Linked DNA regions of Homo sapiens: region 1 is linked to region 2. Evidence: promoter capture Hi-C in human tissues and cell types (Jung and others, 2019). All regions are on one chromosome and are shown on one strand. The core of a region is centred on a gene start or on the middle of the fragment in contact, and the rest is flanking DNA. Distances in the headings are between cores, read along the strand shown.

Region 1 (3,880 bases), core at 209-2,708, 260 kb after region 2:
TTTTAAACTGGCGACTTTCATAAGATTTCTTATTGGTTTTACTTAAATGGAAAGGAAACATTGGCTGGGTGCGGTGGCTCACGCCTGTAATCCCAGCACTGTGGGAGGCCGAGGCTGGTGAATGGGGAGGAGTTTGAGACCAGACTGGCCAACATGGTGAAACCCCATCTCTACTAAAAAGACCAAAAATTAGCCAGGTGTGGTGGTGGGCACCTGTAATCCCAGCTACTGGGGAGGCTGAAGCAGGAGAATCGCTTGAATCTGGTGAGTGGAGCTTGCAGTGAGCTGAGCTTGTGTGACTGAACTCCAGCCTGGGCAGCAGAATGAGACTCCGTCTCAAAAAAGAGAAGAGGAAATGTTACTGTCGTTACTACATAAATTCTACAGCCAAGAGTGTGGAGGTGTGGAGGGTGAGTTCACCTTATAGTGTAGAGGTGTGGAGGGCGAGTTCACCTTAGAGCATGGAGGAGTGGAGGGTGGGTTCACCTTAGAGCATGGAGGAGTGGAGGGGGGGTTCACCTTAGAGCGTGGAGGTGTGGAGGGCGGGTTCACGTTAGAGCGTACAGGTGTGGAGGGTGGGTTCACCTTAGAGCGTGGAGGAGTGGAGGGTGAGTTCACCTTAGAGTGTGGAGGTGTGGGGGGGGGTTCACCTTAGAGCGTGGAGGAGTGGAGGGTGAGTTCACCTTAGAGTGTGGAGGTGTGGGGGGGGGGTTCACCTTAGAGCGTGGAGGTGTGGAGGGTGAGTTCACCTTAGAGCGTGGAGGAGTGGAGGGCGGGTTCACGTTAGAGTGTGGAGGTGTGGAGTGCGGGTTCACCTTAGAGCGTGGAGGAGTGGAGGGCGGGTTCACCTTAGAGCGTGGAGGTGTGGAGGGTGGGTTCACCTTAGAGCGTGGAGGTGTGGAGGGCGGGTTCACCTTAGAGCGTGGAGGAGTGGAGGGTGAGTTCACCTTAGAGTGTGGAGGTGTGGGGGGGGGGTTCACCTTAGAGCGTGGAGGTGTGGAGGGTGAGTTCACCTTAGAGCGTGGAGGAGTGGAGGGCGGGTTCACGTTAGAGTGTGGAGGTGTGGAGGGTGGGTTCACCTTAGAGCGTGGAGGTGTGGAGTGCGGGTTCACCTTAGAGCGTGGAGGAGTGGAGGGCGGGTTCACCTTAGAGCGTGGAGGTGTGGAGGGCGGGTTCACCTTAGAGCGTGGAGGAGTGGAGGGCGGGTTCACGTTAGAGTGTGGAGGTGTGGAGGGCGGGTTCACCTTAGAGTGTGGAGGTGTGGAGGGCGGGTTCACCTTAGAGCGTGGAGGTGTGGAGGGCGGGTTCACCTTAGAGCGTGGAGGAGTGGAGGGCGGGTTCACGTTAGAGTGTGGAGGTGTGGAGGGGGGGTTCACCTTAGAGCGTGGAGGTGTGGAGGGCGGGTTCACCTTAGAGCGTGGAGGTGTGGAGGGCGGGTTCACCTTAGAGCGTGGAGGAGTGGAGGGCGGGTTCACATTAGAGTGTGGAGGTGTGGAGGGTGAGTTCACGTTAGAGCGTAGAGGTGTGGAGGGCGGGTTCACGTTAGAGTGTGGAGGTGTGGAGGGCAGGTTCACCTTACAGGAAGGACGTGGACACCAGAGGGGCTGTGGGCCTTATCCTGGCCACCCCGCCTGTGGGACGGGGCCCATGGGCTGCTCCTCTCAGAGTGAAGCCTTTGTGGGATGAGAAAGTGCCGTGCTCATGAGTCTGGATCCTCTTCTCTCCTACTCCAGCTGCATGTCTGAAAAGCGACGTCACCTTGTTGTTAAAGCCATGGTGGTCCAGCGTGCTCTGTCTTTCCAGGTGCCGAGGTAAACAGAGCATCCACGGAAGGGGAAAGCCCGGATGGACCTGGCCAGGGAGGCCTCTGTCAGAACGGGCCAACGCCACCCTTCCCAGACCCTCCGTCGTCTCTCGATCCCACCACAAGCCCAGTGGGCCCTGATGCCTCTCCAGGTGTGGCTGGTTTCCATGACAACCTAAGGAAGTCTCAGGGAACTAGTGCTGAGGGCAGTGTTAGAAAAGAAGCTTTGCAGTCTCTCAGACTCAGTCTTCCTATGCAAGAAACGCAACTGTGTAAGCATCCGTTACCCCGCTTTTCCCACCCTCCACGTCCGCGTCGCTCAGCCCCTTGGGAGCAGGTGCCCTGCGCACTCACTGTCTGAGCTGTTGTGTGCCTGTGCCTGCCGTGTGCCATCTGAGTCCCACGTGGGGCTGTGAGTTTAGCAAGGAGAGCTTCAAGTTAGAGAGTGAAGATGCAGGTGGAGTCAAGGTTCTGCTGTGGTCTGACTGGCAGCAGTGCTGACGCTTTTGCGTTAAAGGCCAGCCTGCATGTCCTGTGTCACCCAGGTGCTTGGTAAGCAGACGGTGGGCATCCAGTCTGTTGTTTTGGTTTTTTTTGGTTTGCTTTTTTTTTCTGAGACAGAGTCTCGCTCTTTCGCCCAGGCCGGACTGCAGTGGCGCTGTCTCGGCTCACTGCAATCTCCGCCTCCTGGGTTCATGCCATTCACCTGCCTCGGCCTCCCGAGTAGCTGGGACTACATGCACCCGCCACCAGGCCCGGCTAATTTTTTGTATTTTTAGCAAAGATGGGGTTTCACCGTGTTAGTCAAGATGGTATTGATCTCCTGACCTCATGGTCTGCCTGCCTTGGCCTCCCAAAGTGTTGGGATTACAGGCGTGAGCCACCAGGCCCAGCCTGTTTTGTTTTTTAATTAGAGTCAGGATCTTGCTCTGTCGCCCAGGCTGGAGGCCAGTGGCAGAGTCAGAGCTCACTGCAGCCTCTGCCTCCCAGGTTCAAGGGATCTTCCTGCCTCTGCTGTCAAGTAGCTTGGACCACAGGTGCGTGTCACCACACCTGGCTAATTTTAATTTTTTGTGTGTGTAGAAACGGGGTCTCACCATGTTTCCCAGGCTGGTCTTGAACTCCTGGGCTCAAGTGATCGTCATACCTTGGCCTCCCAAAATACTGGGATTATAGGCGTGAGCCACTGTACCTGGCCTGCAGTATATTTTTAAAAATTTCTTAAAACTAAATAACAACAACAAAAAACCCTAAATTACTGAAATCAGACTGCATTTCACATGTGTTTATTTGAAACAATTCTGAAAACTCACTGCCAGCATTTAAGTTGAGAAGTAGCATGTAAAAAAGTCTAGATTCCTGATTTTTTTCAACTTAGTTTATTTACTTTGGGGTCCTGAAGTTACAGATGTGTGAGCTCTGGCCCAGGTGTCTGGGGCAGCAGCGCTGGGTCTACGTGCACACCTTTGCGGGATGCCCCTGGTCACCTGTTCCTGCTGGCGCCTGGCCCTGAGCCTATCTCCTGCGTCAGTGTTTGGTTGAAACCCTGCTTATTTTGCCGACTTATATAAATATCTGCCTGGTGGCCATAGGCCTGAATTTGCCACTTACGGTCTAGCCATCTGGACCACTTTGCCATGTGAAAAGGACTAGAGATCTTTTCAGTGATAAAATGTATAAACTAATAATGGTACATTTACAGTGAAATTCTTGGTGACTGCTCAGATGTTAGGGATTATTTAGGACAGTAGCTGCTCATCTCCTCAGCATCTACCTGTAAGGAGGGTGTCATGTGTAAAGCGTTGCTGTGTGATTATGCTTTCCTACTCTGGTCGGCACCCAGGCCGTCGGGCGGTGTCTGCTGATGGCTTAGGAAGGATGAGGCCACACACTCAGTCCTGGGAAGTGGAGCCCTGGGTTTGTAACTATAACACGTTGGCACGTACCATGCAACTCTTTCATCACCTACAATGAAAGGTCTGGGTTTTAGATATTTTAAATTCTGGTTTTGGCTAAAAAGTTGTAAATTTTCCCCTCCTGTCCCGGAGCATGACCTCGGATTGGAGTCTTGTCTGT
Region 2 (4,014 bases), core at 1,417-3,916:
TTCCCCATCAGCTTCCAACTCACTCACCTGAAAACAGATCTCTTTTCACTTCCCTTTTCCCCAGCCAGGGTTCTTTCCCTTGCTCCAATAAGGAAACCACATCTGGCTTAGAAATGGAAAGACCTGCTTGCAGAAAATGAAATAAATTCAAGATCAGTCATTGAATCCTAAGAGGGGCCACAAAGGAAATGTCAGATGTAAGTTTTTAAAATGTCTAAAAATAAGGTGCAGTTACGTCCCCATCTTAAAACTAATTTTAAGAAACCCCATACCTCTCTTGGGAATATTCAGCCAGATAATTATAACAGCCACCCTAACGGTCAAATTTTGCCTTGAGGGAGATGAAGAAGAATACTTACCCAGTGAGACCAGATGGCCATAGTTCTCCAACATTACACATCTGTACAAATCTCTTTGAGCAGGCTGAAGCCATTTCCACTCCTCCTGGGAGAAGTCTATGGCCACATCTCTGAATGTCACTGACCCCTGAAATGACGGACAGATATTTGCATGACCAGCACGCATGCCCCCAAACTCCCTCATCAAGGAATAAAATGAGTCTCACTGTGGAGGTTAGGCAATGTGTCTAAGTAGTAACAGTGAGAGTTTTCAGAATTCTGAGTAATTATATAATGAAGAGCCTAGCTCTTGTGTTTTGTTGTATAACTGGAGAAAAGGAGAAAAACATAAATTATCTGTCCTGAGATAATTTACAATTTTATTCAAAATAAAGGATTATACACATGAACAATATGGATTTTTGGCATTGGTTGTAAAAATTCTTAAGATTTTACAGTATTCCTTTATGTTAATAAACAATGTATATTTTCCTTAATACCAGCCTATTTTAATATAATTCAGCCAGAATTTCTTCAGGGTAATAATTCGCTACAGCAGATAACAGCACCACCCTTCAAATGGGGCATACAGTCTCAAGTTTGTCACAGTTATCCCTAATCCTAAAGAAATACCTGTGAAACTTAGTGGTAATTTTAGCAATGTCACAGAACAAGGAGGATAAGCAATAAAGAATCTTGATTCCGCAAGAAGAGAATGTAATACCTCCCAGGACAGAACCTAAAGCACTTTCCCTCAGAGTTAGGGGGAATAATATATAAGCCCTTGCTTTGCAGCCTGGTTTTGCACCACTTGAGTGATCCACATTGATCTATAAGGCATGAATGGGAATTTAAAATGTCTCAAACTAGTAGCAGTCCCAGATGGATGGCAGTTATAATTTACAGTTTTGAAGTTTAATAAAAAAGTGATTAAAGACTGTTGACTAATAAAGCAGCTGTTTCCTACACAGCAAGATCTGCAGCAGAGGTGGAAATTGGATTCCCCAGCAAAACTCAGAGAACCTCTGAATTTGGAGAGAAGTATGACAAAAAGTAGGATAAAGAAGTGGAACTGAAATGAGGGACTCATTTTGAATAGTTGACCCTGTTATCCCCACTGCTGTGAAGCACAATTACCAGCCAAGCCCTTAGGCCAAATCAAAATAAAAATGTGTTCCTTATGTCATGTCTGAAAAATGAGCTCTGAGGATTCGGAGATTTTGTTTTGGTCACTTCTGCATCCTCAAGACTTAGAATGAGTTGCACATTAGAATCACTTGGAAGGACTGTTAGACTGCTGGGCCAAATTCTCAGTTTCTGATTCAGAAGGTCTGGGGTAGGACTCAAGAATATTCATTTCTAATACGTTCTCAGATGATGCTGATACTGCTGGTCCAAGGATCACACTGTGGGAACCACTGAAAGTAGAGGTTCAGTAAAAACATATTGAATAAATGAATAAAGGGGCGCTGGAGTAACGTAAAGCACTCCTCATTCTAACACTGTGGGAAAGAGGAGGCGATGTAACAGCTGGCACCCTACCCTCTCACCCTAAAACATGCCAGCCAGGTCAGAAACCCCGCCCACATCTGGATAGCTTCCTGTCACTCTCTTCATGTATACTTAAGTATAAGCACCTGAAAAGGAGGAACAAGGGACAGGGTCCTGGGGTTCTGCCAGGCAGGTGGTTGTAGGAGAAAGAAAGCCACGTCCCAAGTCCTGAAAAACACGGCTGCACTTCACAAAGAAAAGCGGAAACAGGCCAAGTGGGTTGGCTCACTTGAGGCCAAGAGTTTGAGGTTACAGGATGCTATGATCGCTCCACTGCCTGGGCGACAGGAGGAGACCCTGTCTCTCTCTTAAAAAAAAAATAAAAATTTATATATATATATATATATATATTTATCAATCATTAGCTTACCTGAGACATAGCTCACAGAAGGGAAGGAGGAGATCAGAAAAGTGTAAAATGGCAGACCTGGCAGAGAGAGAAAGGAGCCCTGAGCGAACAGGCCAGCTAGGCCGCGCCCAAGTCACTAGATTCCCGCACTGGGGATTCCCGTGGCCCCCGCTCCGCGCCTCCCACGTAGAGAGCAGGGCGCCCTGAGAGATCGCGCTTGGACCACTGGCGCCGGCTTTCTCTTCCTGCCACGGCGCGCCTCCCCAGAACCCCCTCACCTAACAGTGGCCACAGAAGGATGCGTTTCCGTGGTGCTTTCCGCCAGGTGGGCGTAGCGTTCCAGGGCTCCGGACCGAGTCACCGCCCGGGGCCATCCGGCGCAGACCGGGAGGGCTCCTTTCGTTGCCTACAGCCAACACAGGCCAGACGCTCGGCGCCGCCCCCCAGGGCCCCTCCGCGGGCGTCGCAGGAATTGCGTCTTCAGAAGCCTCGCCGACGTCACCCCAACCAGGCCGCCGGCCTCAAGAAACTACAATTCCCAGAAACCAATGCGGCCCTGCGCGCAAGGGCTTTTCGTTCCTACTGGAACTCCCAGAGCGCCTCGCTGCCGTGCCCAGAACGCCAGGAGACAAAGAACGAGGGCCTGCGACAACTACAATTCCCAGAGCCATCGCGGCCCGGTGCGCCAGAGCATAGGGGCTATCCTCCCACGCCCAGAGCCGAGAAACAAAGAACCCGGGTCCTAGGCAACTACATTTCCCAGAAATAACCGCGGCCCCCCGCGGAAGAGTACACAGACCTTTGTGTTCCTATAACTGCCAGAGTGTCTCGCGGCCAAGCGCACAACTAGCGGAGAAACGAAGAACGTGGAACTCAGGCCACCACACTTCCCAGAAACAACCGCGACCCCGCGCGAGAGAGCATATGGCTTTCCCCGCCCCACTGCAACTCCCAGGGTGCTTTGAGGCCAAGCGCACATCATCGAAAGACAAAGAACACGAGCTTCAGGCAACTACACTTCCCAGAACCTCTAGCGACCGTGCGCAAAAGAGCGGAGGACGTTCTTCCCCTACTACGACTCCCAGAGTGCATCGTGGCCACGCCCAAAGCCGGAAGACAACGCAGAGCTCTGGCGACTACATTCCCCCAAACTCCTGCGCCGCACGCCAGAGGGTATAGGGTTTTCCTCCCCTACTACGACTCCCACAGTGCTTCGCTGGCGTGCACACACGGCCCAGAGACAAGGAACTGGAGACTCAGGTGACTACACTTCCCAGAACACACCGCGGCCCAGCAAGAGCCCAAGACCGCCTCTATTAAACAACTAGGATTCTTAACAACGACTGTGGAGTCAGTACTTCAGTCTAAGACCTTTTGCTACTGGAAAGGGGTCCGGATCTCAGACTCTAAGAGAGGGTTCTTGGATCTTGCACAAGAAAGAATTTGAGGCGAATCCATAAGGTGAAAGCAAGTTTATTAGGAAAGTAAAGGAATAAAGAATGGCTAATCCATAGGCAGGGCAGCCCCGAGGGCTGCTGGTTGCGCATTTTTGTGGTTATTTCTTGATGATATGCTAAACAAGGGGTGGATTATTCATGCATCCTCTTTTTAGACCATATAGGGTAACTTCCTGACGTTGCCATAGCCACTGGTGGGCAGTGAGGACAATCAGGTCGTTCTCATCGCTATCTCGGTTTTAGTCGGCTTCTTTACTGCAACCTGTTTTATCAGCAAGGTCTTTATGACCTGTATCTTGTGCCAGCCTCATGTCTCATC

What was found. Contacts are between HindIII fragments. The study calls those that stand out against the background at their distance.
Region 1: a contact is called between a fragment that was not itself captured here and the fragment with the promoter of ZNF140 in region 2, in 1 of the 25 tissues and cell types used here (lymphoblastoid cells).

What each region holds. Positions count from the first base shown.
Region 1 is chr12:132,814,736-132,818,615 of GRCh38, reverse strand. GOLGA3 (golgin A3) reads left to right here. Exons shown (of 24, transcript NM_001389683.1): 3 at 1,804-2,076. Among named protein-coding and RNA genes, the nearest start is that of GOLGA3, 12 kb to the left of the region's middle. The HindIII fragment of the contact is 4,457 bases long and covers 1-3,686 here.
Region 2 is chr12:133,079,575-133,083,588 of GRCh38, reverse strand. ZNF140 (zinc finger protein 140) reads right to left here and starts at 2,666. Exons shown (of 5, transcript NM_003440.4): 1 at 2,517-2,666; 2 at 2,260-2,316; 3 at 360-486; 4 at 28-123. The coding sequence starts at 2,268. RefSeq lists enhancers at 2,678-2,877, 2,948-3,637. The HindIII fragment of the contact is 23,175 bases long and covers 1-4,014 here.